Regions from separate parts of the Homo sapiens genome. Here all the other regions are linked to region 2. Evidence: promoter capture Hi-C in human tissues and cell types (Jung and others, 2019). All regions are on one chromosome and are shown on one strand. Each heading gives the region's core, a stretch centred on a gene start or on the middle of the fragment in contact. The rest is flanking DNA. Distances are from core to core; before and after follow the strand shown. Region 1 has its middle 9.7 kb from the start of SSU72-AS1. Region 2 holds the start of DVL1 (dishevelled segment polarity protein 1). Region 3 holds the start of TMEM240 (transmembrane protein 240).

Region 1 (4,697 bases), core at 1,370-3,869, 230 kb before region 2:
GCCGAGATCGCACCACTGCACTCCAGCCTGAGCGACAAAACGAGCCTTCGTCTCAAAAAAACAAAACAAAACAAACAAAAAAACCAAAAAAAACCTTTGTCTTCTTCTACCTCCCTGAATATGCACATACTTTACTGTGGCACACGCGTTCCCATTGCAATCCTATTCCTGAATAAATATTTTACTTTTTTACTTTTGGTGGAGAAGAGTTTATTTAAGGCCGGGCGTGGTGGCTCACGCCTGTAATCCCAGCACTTTGGGAGGCTGAGGCGGGCGGATCACGAGGTCAGGAAATCGAGACCATCCTGGCTAACACGGTGAAACCCCGTCTCTACTAAAAATACAAAAAATTAGCCGGGCGCGGTGGCAGGCGCCTGTAGTCCCAGGTCCCAGCTACTTGGAAGGTTGAGGCAGGAGAATGGCATGAACCCGGGAGGCGGAGCTTGCAGTGAGCCAAGATCGCGCCACTGCACTCCAGCCTGGGTGACAGAGTGAGACCTCGTCCCAAAAAAGAAAAAGAAGAGTTTATTTAATGTGAGAACAGCATCCTCCCGGTGAGTGTTGAGCTCTTGGCAGACAGGAGGCTGGAGAGGGCGGCTCCTCTCCACAGGAAGTCGTTTGGATGTCTCCGCAGGTCTCAGGCTCTCCACAGACAGGGTAGAGGTAGCTCCTCTCTGCTGACAGGTTGTCTGGGCAGCTCTCAGCGGAGGACAGAGGAGAAGGTACTCCTCTCTGCAGCTGGTCATCCTGGTCGCCTCCCTGCCCTCTTCCTCTTCTGGCTGTCCTCTTCGAATAAATATCATTTTCTGCTAGAGAACCCCTCTCTGTTATTTAGTTTGACATAAATGATGCTCTGAAACAGGACCTGAAGGAAGGTCACTTTAAGAAGGAACTGGCGGTTCTTGGAGCCAGTGCCCCATGCTCGCCGAGCCCTATGGGCTCTCTGCTTCCGTGGTTCGCATGCTCTGCCTTGGAGAATCTTCTGTGGCTGTGCTTCCCTCTTTTTAAAATTGCATTTTATTATTATTATTATTATTATTATTATTTAAGACATGGTCTCTCTGTGTTGCCCAGGCTGGAGTGGAGTGGCACAGTGTTGGCTCACTGAAGCCTCAACATCCCAGGCTCAAGCGATTCTCCCACCTCAGCCTCCTCAGTAGCTGGGACCACAGGCTGGTTCTACTATGTCCAGATAATTTTTGTTTGCTTGTTTGTTTTTAAAAAAAGAGTCTTGGCTGGGCGCGGTATCTCACACCTGTAATGCCAGCACTTTGGGAGGCCGAGGCAGGTGGATCACGAGGTCAGAAGTTCGAGACCATCCTGGCTAACACGGTGAAACCCTGTCTCTACTAAAAATACAAAAAATTAGCCGGGCGTGGTGGCGGGTGCCTGTAGTCCCAGCTATTTGGGAGGCTGAGGCAGGAGAATGGCGTGAACCTGGGAGGCAGAGCTTGCAGTGAGCTGAGATTGCGCCATTGCACTCCAGCCTGGGCGACACAGCGAGACTCCATCTCAAAAAAAAAATTAGCCAGGCGTGGTGGCGGGCACTTGTAGTCCCAGCTACTTGGGAGGCTGAGGCAGAAGAATGGCATGAACCCGGGAGGTGAAGCTTGCAGTGAGCCGAGATTGCACCACTGCACTCCAGCCTGGGCAATAGAGCAAGACTCCGTCTCAAAACAAACAAACAAACAAATAAACAAACAAAAAAAGTTAGCTGGACATGGTGGCATGCACCTGTAATCCCAGCTAGTCTAGAGGCTGAGGCAGGAGAATCGCTTGAACTCACAAGGCAGAGGTTGCAGTGAGCCAAGATTGCACCGCTGCACTCCAGCCTGGACTGCAGAGTGAGATTCTGTTTCAAAAGAAAACAAAACAACAACGAAAGTTACTGGGTCTGTCGCCACCATCTGAAACAGTGGTCCATGTGCTTGACAATTCCTGATAGGATCTATGGAAGCTTCTTTGCTCTTCAGAAAATAAGAAGAAATGAAATGGGATTCTCAAACATTAAGTCACAGCAGATTTTTTGGTTCTCCAGCAGGCTATATTATGGCCCAACTTGGGCAAACTGTACTTATTTATCTTTCTTTTTAATTTTTCTCAGCTTCTGTTCTGCTCTAACTCAGGCACATTTTAAAACTGATGGGTGGCCAGGCACGGTGGCTCACGCCTGTAATCCCAACACTTTGGGAGGCTAAAGTGGGAGGATCACGAGGTCAGGAGTTCGAGACCAGCCTGGCCAACATGGTGAAACCCCGTCTCTACTAAAAATACAAAAAATTAGCCAGGCGTGGTGGCACACGCCTGTAATTGCAACTACTCAGGAGGCTGAGGCAAGAAAATTGCTTGAACCCGGGACGCAGAGGTTGCACTGAGCCAAGATCATGCCACTGCACTCCAGCCTGGTCGACACAGCAAGGCGCTGTCTCAAAAACAAAAACAAAAACAAAAAAACCCCAAAACTGGCCGGGCACGGTGGCTCACGCCTGTAATCCTGGCACTTTGGGAGGCTGAGGTGGGTGGATCACAAGGTCAGGAGACTGAGACCATCCTGGCTAATCGGTGAAATCCCGTCTCTACTAAAAATACAAAAAATTAGCCGGGTGTGGTGGTGGGTGCCTGTAGTCCCAGTTACTCGGGAGGCTGAGGCAGGAGAATGGTGTGAACCTGGGAGATGGAGCTTGCAGTAAGCTGAGATTGCGCCACTGCACTCCAGCCTGGGCCACAGCGAGACTCCGTCTCAAAAAAAAAAAAAAAAAATTAATTGGCGGGCGCGGTGGCTCACGCCTGTAATCCCAGCACTTTGGGAGGCCGAGGCGGGCGGATCATCTGAGGTCTGGAGTCTGAGACCAGCCTGACCAACATGGAGAAACCCCATCTCTACTAAAAATACAAAATTAATGGCGCATGCCTGTAATCCCAGCTACTCGGGAGGCTGAAGCAGAAGAATTGCTTGAACCCGGGAGACAGAGGTTGTGGTGAGCTGAGATCATGCCATTGCACTCCAGCCTGGGCAACAAGAGCAAAACTCCATCTCAAAAAAAAAAAAAAAATTTTTATGCTTTGGGGCAGTGGCAGTGGTAACGGGGCTGTGTGCAGGAGGAGCATCGATCGGGCAGGGTGGATGTGGGCTGGGGCAGCCCCGGGTCCCAGGCCCTGCAACGGTGTGCAGGGCGGGAGTGCCCAGTCGGGCTGCATTCCCAGGTGCACGGCGTGCCACTGAGCTGCTCACGTAGCTGCCACCATCTGTGCTGGGCCCAGCCGAGACGCAGAACCTCGTGGACATGACCTAGGAAGACCCAGACAGTGTGCCCCACGGATGTCCTGGATCAAAGGGACCCAGGTTGGTGATTACTTCTACTCCTTTGGCGGCTGTTATTGGCACGCAGCCTACCGGTAGCTGCAGCAAGGGCCATCCTGGACAAGCTTGTGCAGTCCACCCTCTCGGACCTCAGGGTGTACCTGGGGGCATCCACGCCAGACTTGTAGGAGCAGTCCCCATGGCACCGACTGACACTTCTAAGAGCCCAGAAGATACATCTGGCCCCCGTAGGCTGGGCTGGCAGAAGGGATAGCTGAGATGCGTTCTCTTTGCACTTGGTGGGGAGGGTCTGACTCGAGACACTTCCCCAACAGTAGGGAATAAAATTGTCATGGTTGAATAGACCGATTGTGGATTGTGTTCCATCTACTGAGACTGGCACACTGCCTCCTGAAATGAAAGTGGATCTCATCACCAGAGGAGAAATGAGGAACTGCGTATCAGCTAGCCTTCACTGTGTAACAGACCATCCCAAAATTTGGCAGCAAAAACAGGTCACGTATTTGTCCACAATTCTGTGGGTTGGCAATCTGCACTGGGCTCACCTGCGGACCCTCATGGAGCTGTGGTCATTTGTCACATCCGCTACACCTGGATGGTCTAGGACAGCCTGACTCACTTGTCTGGCAGGTGACAGGTTGTTGGTTGGGGTGGCCTGTCTAGCAGGCTGCTTCAGCCTTAGGGCTCCAGGAGAGTGAGAGTAGAAGCTGCAAGATTTCTTGGGTTCTGGGCCTGGAACTGGGGCTGGGACAACGTCAGTTCTACTAAGTTCTTTTGATCAGAGCAAATCACAAGGCTTTGCCCGGATTCAAGGGATGAGAAAGAGACCGTATGTCTTGATGAGAGGAACCACAAAGAATGTGTGGCCATTTTTCACCTAATGCAAATAACTTTGGGTGGGGAAATAACAATATTTATCTCTCTCAGGGGACCTCACTCTGCCTAGTCTGAAGGCAAAAAGACACTGTCCTGGCCGTCAGGGTCTTGGGGAAGAGGTGTTGAGGCAGGGTGAGGCCTCTTCAAGGCTGGATCCACTATAATAGGGGCACCATGTTTTCTGCACTGGTGGGATGGGGTTTTACTGGGTGGGATGTTCCAGAGGGGCTTCTGAAAGCCAAGAGTCCTGGGGGAAAGGGAGAGGTGGAGAAACATGTGAATACATAACCCCAAATCATTTGAAATGGGAAAAATGGTAAAATGAGGTTTTTTAAAATAATAAACCTCCTATACAAACTGCGATCCCCCAAATTTTGGTCTGTATCCTTCATTAGATCACCTATTTGGGCAAATAAAGTTTAGCCATGTGAACATGTCCCATTTTGTCAGAAATACTATCATATAATTGGGATCCAATTGTCTGTTTTTTGTTGTTGTT
Region 2 (4,084 bases), core at 1,127-3,626:
CTTCCTCCCTCCCTGGGGCCTCAACAGATAGCCCCTCTTAGGTCTTCCTGCCTGGCTTCTGACCTCTGGGGAAGAGAAGGGCTGCGGGAAGGTGGAGGGGGCTGGCGGCTAAGCTGTCCGGGCTTGGCTGAGCAAACGCCACAGTTCTCCCTCTCAGAGCCCGGGTGCAGGGTCAGGATCCCAGGCCCAAGCTGACCGTCAAGCACTGGTGCCTGCACTGATCGGTTTCTTTCCGAGCCGGTGCAGCCCCCAGCACGGTCAGGGCCCGATAGATGCCAGTTCCATCTCGCCGGCTTCCTGGGGACGGGAACCAAGGGACCCCACCGCACTCTCTTCCCCATCGCTCCAGCCCCGTCCAGGCCCCCTCCTCACTCCCCCCGTCGCTCCTGCCCCGTCCAGGCCCCCTCCTCACTCCCCCCGTCGCTCCTGCCCCGTCCAGGCCCCCTCCTCACTCCCCCCGTCGCTCCTGCCCCGTCCAGGCCCCCTCCTCACTCCCCCCGTCGCTCCTGCCCGGTCCAGGCCCCCTCCTCACTCCCCCCGTCGCTCCTGCCCCGTCCAGGCCCCCTCCTCACTCCCCCCGTCGCTCCTGCCCCGTCCAGGCCCCCTCCTCACTCCCCCCGTCGCTCCAGCCCCGTCCAGGCCCCCTCCTCACTCCCCCCGTCGCTCCTGCCCCGTCCAGGCCCCCTCCTCACTCCCCCCGTCGCTCCTGCCCCGTCCAGGCCCCCTCCTCACTCCCCCCGTCGCTCCTGCCCGGTCCAGGCCCCCTCCTCACTCCCCCCGTCGCTCCTGCCCGGTCCAGGCCCCCTCCTCACTCCCCCCGTCGCTCCTGCCCCGTCCAGGCCCCCTCCTCACTCCCCCCGTCGCTCCTGCCCCGTCCAGGCCCCCTCCTCACTCCCCCCGTCGCTCCTGCCCCGTCCAGGCCCCCTCCTCACTCCCCCCGTCGCTCCTGCCCCGTCCAGGCCCCCTCCTCACTCCCCCCGTCGCTCCTGCCCGGTCCAGGCCCCCTCCTCACTCCCCCCGTCGCTCCTGCCCCGTCCAGGCCCCCTCCTCACTCCCCCCGTCGCTCCTGCCCCGTCCAGGCCCCCTCCTCACTCCCCCCGTCGCTCCTGCCCCGTCCAGGCCCCCTCCTCACTCCCCCCGTCGCTCCTGCCCCGTCCAGGCCCCCTCCTCACTCCCCCCGTCGCTCCTGCCCCGTCCAGGCCCCCTCCTCACTCCCCCCGTCGCTCCTGCCCCGTCCAGGCCCCCTCCTCACTCCCCCCGTCGCTCCTGCCCCGTCCAGGCCCCCTCCTCACTCCCCCCGTCGCTCCTGCCCCGTCCAGGCCCCCTCCTCACTCCCCCCGTCGCTCCTGCCCGGTCCAGGCCCCCTCCTCACTCCCCCCGTCGCTCCTGCCCGGTCCAGGCCCCCTCCTCACTCCCCCCGTCGCTCCAGCCCCGTCCAGGCCCCCTCCTCACTCCCCCCGTCGCTCCTGCCCCGTCCAGGCCCCCTCCTCACTCCCCCCGTCGCTCCTGCCCCGTCCAGGCCCCCTCCTCACTCCCCCCGTCGCTCCTGCCCCGTCCAGGCCCCCTCCTCACTCCCCCCGTCGCTCCTGCCCCGTCCAGGCCCCCTCCTCACTCCCCCCGTCGCTCCTGCCCCGTCCAGGCCCCCTCCTCACTCCCCCCGTCGCTCCTGCCCCGTCCAGGCCCCCTCCTCACTCCCCCCGTCGCTCCTGCCCCGTCCAGGCCCCCTCCTCACTCCCCCCGTCGCTCCTGCCCCGTCCAGGCCCCCTCCTCACTCCCCCCGTCGCTCCTGCCCCGTCCAGGCCCCCTCCTCACTCCTCCCATCCTGGGCCGCCCTCTAGTGGCCTCCGCGCTTCCTGCTGGGGTCGGGTCGGGAAGGCCTCCAGCCCCGCGAGCCCCGGAACAGTAAGCGCGGACGCCCCGCGGCCTCAAGGGACGCCTCGGAAGTCTCCCCTGCCCTGCGGAGAACCCCAGGACTAAATCCCTCCCGCCGCCGGGCGCTCCGACGCCTCCGTGCACGCCCGCGCCCCCGCGCGCCCCGCATCCGCTCGGCCTGCTGCCTGGACCCCGTGGGACCCGGCAGAGGGCACGCGAGTCGGGAGCCTTCGCGGTGGCGCAGAGCGACCGGGCGCCACCTCAGCGCCGCGCACCCGGCGTCCCCGGGGTCCCTCCGCCCGACCCGAGCGCCCCGGCGCCCACGGGCCCACAGCCAGCGGCGCGCGTCGCATGCGCCGGATCATAATGGAGCGCGGGCCCGCGCGCGGGGGCGGGGCCGGGGCGGGGCGGGGCGAGCGATGATCGCCTGCGTCTGCGCATCCTCGCCCCGCCCCCGCCGTGCGCCCCCGTGACGTCAACGCCGCGCGCTCGGGCGCCCCCCCGCGGCCACGCTCAGGACCCCGGGCCGGGCGGTCCCTTTAACGGCGCGGCCCGAGGGGCGCAGGCGGGAGGGCGGCGGGGCTGAGCGCGCCCTCCGTGCTGCGTCCCTCGCGCCGCTCCCGGGCCGGGGGCGGATGGGCGGCCGCGGGCCGCGGGGCAGCAGTCGGGACGCGCGCGGGAGCCGGGGGCGGCGGCCGGGGCCTGGGCGGTCGGGCGGGGGCGCCCGGGGGCCTCGGAGCGTCGGGGCCGAGAGCGGTGCGGGCCGGGCGGGGCGCAGGCGGGCGGGCGGGTAGCGCCCCGCGTCCGAGCCCCGGGCCGGGCCCTGAGCGCGCGGGCTCCGCGCCGCCGCCGCGCCATGGCGGAGACCAAGATTATCTACCACATGGACGAGGAGGAGACGCCGTACCTGGTCAAGCTGCCCGTGGCCCCCGAGCGCGTCACGCTGGCCGACTTCAAGAACGTGCTCAGCAACCGGCCCGTGCACGCCTACAAATTCTTCTTTAAGTCCATGGACCAGGACTTCGGGTCAGTCGGCCGCGAGGCCTGCGCGAGCCTGGCGCGGGCTCGGGGGTCGCACCTGCCCGCGCGGGGACGGGGCGGGGGTCCTGAGCCGTTCGCGCCCCCGGGGACCTGCGACCGCGACGCGCCTCCGCTAGATGCGGCGCGGGTGGCGGCCTCGGCCCGTGTGCGGCGCGCGCCCACCTGTCCGTGGAGCGGGGCGATGGCAGGCGGGGTTCCCGGCGTCCCTGGCCCCAGCTTCCCGGCCCCGAGTCCTGCCTTGGCCCGTGTCAGACTCGGTCGGCCGCATCGCTTCCACCGGGGCTGGCCGGGAGCGCCTGCCGTTGGTGCGGGCTGGGGTCAGGGGCGTGTCAGTGGGAAGGAAGCAGGGTGGGGTTCCCTAGCTGGGATGGGGAGACATGGGGGTACAGGTTCACCAACCTGTCTGCTAGGGTTTGCAGAAGCTTCCCGAGGGTCAAGACAGGTTCTCCTGGCCCCCTTCTGCAGGGTCCTTGTGACAGGGTGGAGGTCAAGGGCCACTGGTGACCATGAAACTTTATTCGCCTACCCGTGTCCTGAGCTTCCTGTGGGCCCCGTCCCCACTGAGCCACAAAGCACTTGCGTTCCCGGAGCAGCCCAGACCATCTGCTGTTTCGGGGCAGCCTGGGTCAGCGTCTCCCTGCTGGGCCTCGGTGGTGGTGTCCCAGGCGAGGAGACCCCTGCTGTGCTGAGCTGGGCCCTCTGGGACAGGGAGCAGGAGCCTGGCGGTCTGCTTGAGGCCTGGCCTGGCCCGGCCCAGCCACCAGTAACCTGAGTCCCTAGTCCCAGCTCAACAGTGCTGGGGGCGGGCTCAGGCCTCGTGGCCCCAGGAGGTGAGCCTCCGGCAAGCGGTGTCCTTGTGTGTGGCCGCTTCTTGGGATTGTGACATTAAGGTTGTTTCTTGGATTCTGTGGTTGCAGGGTCCTCAGGCAGCCCCAGGTCCAGTCAGGCTGGGTCCGCTCTGGAGCTCTCAGGGGGGCCCAAGGGACATCTAGACAGCTGTACTTTCCTTCCCCACCCCCACGACCAGGCAAAGCAGAGAGGGCAGGGTGCGTCCTTGGCAGCCTTTGAAGGCTGGGCGCTCCCCACTCGGCTCAGCGGCCCTCCTGCCCGCTCCGGTCAGGTTGGGCAGGAGGGGGCGGTTTGTTTTCTGAGTCTGGTCCGGGCTCCTCCC
Region 3 (4,162 bases), core at 840-3,339, 190 kb before region 2:
GAGGCACTGGGTGCTGGCCAAGGCTGGGGACCAGGGGACAGTGGAGATGGCGAGTAACGAGCTGCCGGTGCCAGGGCAGGTGTGCCTAGGAGCCGGGCCTGCTCACTCTGGGGCAGCGGCCCTCTGCCAGGGGCTCTGGTGGATGGAGGCCAGGATGCTCCGATGACCAGGCTGCCCCCGCTCGCTTGTTGGTGGTGTGGAAGCGCTGGCGGTGAGGGTTGGTCGGCCCCGCTGTGCATGTGTGGGTCTGAGCCCTGGCCGCCAGGTCTCCGTGCTGGGCCCCTCTCAGAATCCAGCTCCAGGCTCCTCCCAGCTCCTCCCAGCTTCAGGTCCTGTGAGGGTCGGTGGGGAGGTGGGGGCTGCCCGGGACGCTCTCCCCCTGCAGCCTCCGGCCGTCCTTGTGAGGCAGCAGCGGTGGGGTGAGGGCCTGCCTGCTGCGCTGGTTTCTGCTGGCTCAGGCCTGGCGTTTCCCTGGCGATCCAGGTGTTAGGGGGAGCAGACAGGCAGGAGTGGGCAAGGCCCTCACCACGGTCCTGTCCTTGCAGATCCAGCACACGGAAGACATGGAGAACGAGATCGACGAGCTGCTGCAGGAGTTCGAGGAGAAGAGTGGCCGCACCTTTCTGCACACCGTCTGCTTCTACTGAGCCCAGCGCCCGCATGGAGCCGCCTCTGGAGCTTCCTGTTGTTCATACTTTTTCCTTCCTGACATTTGTTTTTACTTACAGGTGTTCTGCTGGTGACGGTAGCATTACCCAAATAAACTGTGCATATGAAATGGGAGAGGAGATGCCAAAACGCCAGATGAAAGCAATCAAGTTTCTTCTTTTCCACTTTTACTTATGAGCAGGATATTGATTACAAAGTTTTTCTTCTTTAACCAAAAAGGAAAGACAACGGTTTGTGTGCACTTCCCGACATACCTGTGTCTTCGTGTGCCTGCCTTCCCTCCCTCCTCCCCACCGGGCCGGACTGTACAGAGCCCTGCTGCGGCGTGTTAGGAATGACCTGGAATTGTCAATAAACAGATGCTGCTGTCATTGTGCCTGGTCCTGAATTCCTGGCCCGACCCTCGCCCCTGAGGAGGTGGCAGAGGCCTAGCCCTGCCGCCCTCAGTGACCTCCGACCACTGCTTGGGAGGAGTAGCTCAGACCTGGTGGTGCTGACAGGGTCTGGGCCTACCCGTGCCTGTGCTGCCTGAAGCGGAAGCCGCCTGCTCCTGCCACAACTGCTGCCTGTGGTGGAGCGGCGTCCCCTCTCCATGTGGAACCCCCCCGGGCGGGGATCCCCCAAGGCCAGCTACGGGGGAGGCTGAGCCGGGAGGATCGCCTGAGCCCAGGAGTGGAGGCTGCAGTGAGCCTGGATGGCGCCACGACCCAGGCTGGGTCCCAGGCATAGCTTCCCGCTGACTTCCTGCTGAGGCCGGGGGTCGGCTCCCGGGCCTGAGACATGGTCACCGGTCGTGGATGAGAGTTTGGCCTCAGGACCCCGAGCCAGGGACAGCCACAGCGGAGTGGTGGCCACTGGGCCTCTGAATGGCCGGCGTCCCGACCCATGGGCCTGGGCTGACCCCCTCGTCCCCGCCCTAAGGGAAGCCTGTGCGGGGCGGCCCTGCCCTCGGCTCCTGTGCCACATCCCTCCGTTGAGGATTCCAGGGGTCATCCCGTCCCTGACCTGTGGCCCCCACGGCCGTGGGGCTGTCGCGACCTTGCGGACCCCACCCTGGAGGCACGTGCGTGCCGAGCGGACTGGGGCAGTCCCGCACCCGGCGACCTGGGAGTCCAGGACGTAGGGCGGAGCAGTGGGGCGGGAAGGGCCTCGGCGCCCCTCCAGGACCGGAGGACTGGCGTCCAGGGTCACCGGACAGGCCACCGGGGCTGGGTCTGACCAGACTGGGGCGGGACGCGAAGCCGAGGCTCCCGGGGAGGGGTCCCGGCCGGCGTCCGGGGGATGGCGGTCTCCTCCCGGCGCTGGCACGGGGCGGCCTGCGGTCTGCGCGGTCCCTCCCGAGAGGCGGAGGAAGGCGGCGGGGAGGGAGGGGGGAGGAGGGAGGAGGAGGCAGGGAGGGGGCCGGAGCCGAGCGGAGCCGAGTCGAGCCGAGCCGAGCGCATCGCAGGGAGGACCCGAGGGCGGAGCGGAGCGCGGCGGGCCGGGCCGAGAGACCCCAGAAAGGCCCCGCGTCCCTCCCCGGCGCCCCCCCCCCCGCGCCTCCTCCCCCCGGCCGGTGCCGGGGTTGCAGCGAGCGGCGGCGGACGATCCAGGGAAGCGCTGACCTCTGCGGAGGCGGCGGGGGCTCAGCATCGGGCCGGGGCCGGGGGGGCGCCGGGGCCGGGGGGCGGCGCTCCGGCCCGGCCCGGCCCCGCCCGATGTCCATGAGCGCGAACACCATGATCTTCATGATTCTGGGGGCGTCGGTCGTGATGGTGAGCGGAGGGGCTTCCCGCGCGCGCCCCCTGCTCCCCGCCCGCGCGCGCCGCCTGGCCCACCTCCCGCGCCTTGTTTACCGCCCGTGCGGCCTGCGCTCCCCTCCCCGGCCTGCGCTCCCCTCCCCGGCCTGCGCTCCCCTCCCCGGCCTGCGCTCCCCCACCCCGGCCTCCGCTCCCCTCCCCAACCTGCGATCCCCACACTCCCTACGCTCCTCTCTCCGGCCTACGCTCCCCCCACCCCGGCCTGCGCTTCCCCCTCCCCGGCCCGCGGTCCCCTCCCGGGCCTGCGCTCCCCCCACCCCGGCCTGCGCTCCCCTCCCCAGCCTGCGATCCCCATACCCGCTGCGCTCCCCCTACCAAGGCCTACGCTCCCCTCACCCCGGCCTGCGCTCTCGCTCCCCGCTTGCGCTGCCCCGACCCCGGCCTGCGCTCCCCACCCCCAGCCCCGCTTCGTCCCGCCCGCTCCTTGGCGCTGACCGGTCATGAGCTCTTCCAGGCCATCGCGTGCTTGATGGACATGAACGCGCTGCTGGACCGATTCCACAACTACATCCTCCCGCACCTGCGGGGCGAGGACCGCGTCTGCCACTGCAACTGTGGCCGGTGAGTCCACAACCGGCGCCGGCTCGACACGCGTGAGCGCACATGTGTGGCGGGGCCCACTCGGGGCGCGGGGGAACCAGCCCCACGCAGGCCGCGAGCCGCCTTCCACCCTTGAGGGCTGCCAGGTGCGCAGGGGGAGGAGCTGTCTCAAGGTGGGCGGGGGTCTCCTGGGGGCGCATGGCTTTAGGACGCCGTTCCTAGAGGCCTCCAGGGTGATGGCGGAATGGGTCACGGGGCCTCCTGGTCCAGCCTGGAGGCCGGAAAGCCGCAGCCCAGTGTGATGTCCACAGTGGAGACCCAAGCCAGCCTCATCAGGGCTGGGGCAGGAAGCGCCTGCTGGCACAGGGCTGGGCCCTGCACTGAGTCCCTGGGCAGGGGAATGCAGGTCAAGGCGGGAAGGGCCTGCCTTGAGGGGCACTGGGCACCACCCCCGGGCTGGAGAGGAGCTGAGGGATGGGCTGGGGGGGCAGCGGGGAGGTGGAGCTTCCTCAAGGTCATTCAGATTGAGGGGAGCGCCCAGACCCCCCGCACCCACCGTGTGACCCCCTCTGTGCACGTGTAGCGATGGGATCCTCTTGGCCATGCATGTTTGTACGTCCATGTACGAAATAAACATCTTCTCATGAGACGCGCATGTGTGTGGCGTCTGTGCATATACATGTGCGTACACACAGCCCCCGCGCACGCACGCATGCACTTCCACCCCTCAGGACACCCTCACGCAGTGGCCGCTGTTAACCCTGCTGAACAGATGAGGAAGTGGACGGAGGATTTAGAGGACAGGCTTTTCCAAGGTCACACAGCTAGTGAAGGACAAAGGGGGCACCAGCCCAGAACCCGTGTTCGTCATCTCTGCTGCCTCCTGCTCCGGGGGTCTCTGTGCATACGTGTGGGTGTGGGGCATGTGTGTTCAGGACAGCTGCATGTGTTGCTAAGCGTGTGACATGCCTATGGGTGCAGCAGGCGTGTCGATGAAGAACACGGGTGTTAGAGAAGGCAGAGATCGGGGTGTCTGTGACCCTCACGTGTGCTGGGCACAGGGTAGGGGGTAAGAGCTTGTGGGGTGGCCACATGCTACCAGAGAGCCCCGTGTCCCTGGCTGGCAGGTCCGACTGCTGAGCAAAGGCCTGAGG

What was found. Contacts are between HindIII fragments. The study calls those that stand out against the background at their distance.
Region 1: a contact is called between a fragment that was not itself captured here and the fragment with the promoter of DVL1 in region 2, in 1 of the 25 tissues and cell types used here (stomach).
Region 3: a contact is called between the fragment with the promoter of TMEM240 here and the fragment with the promoter of DVL1 in region 2, in 3 of the 25 tissues and cell types used here (heart left ventricle, lymphoblastoid cells and mesendoderm cells).

Annotation. Positions count from the first base shown.
Region 1 is chr1:1,582,299-1,586,995 of GRCh38, reverse strand. No RefSeq gene overlaps it. Among named protein-coding and RNA genes, the nearest start is that of SSU72-AS1, 9.7 kb to the right of the region's middle. The HindIII fragment of the contact is 3,924 bases long and covers 658-4,581 here.
Region 2 is chr1:1,347,710-1,351,793 of GRCh38, reverse strand. It overlaps DVL1 (dishevelled segment polarity protein 1), which reads left to right and starts at 2,376. Exons shown (of 15, transcript NM_001330311.2): 1 at 2,376-2,898. The coding sequence starts at 2,729. RefSeq lists silencers at 1,755-1,904, 1,925-2,244, 2,345-2,524, 3,685-3,861 and enhancers at 3,414-4,043, 4,044-4,084. The HindIII fragment of the contact is 25,707 bases long and covers 1-4,084 here.
Region 3 is chr1:1,538,551-1,542,712 of GRCh38, reverse strand. TMEM240 (transmembrane protein 240) reads left to right here and starts at 2,089. Exons shown (of 4, transcript NM_001114748.2): 1 at 2,089-2,423; 2 at 2,923-3,029. The coding sequence starts at 2,367. It overlaps SSU72 (SSU72 homolog, RNA polymerase II CTD phosphatase), which reads left to right. Exons shown (of 5, transcript NM_014188.3): 5 at 546-1,040. The coding sequence ends at 647. RefSeq lists a silencer at 3,210-3,504. The HindIII fragment of the contact is 20,414 bases long and covers 1-4,162 here.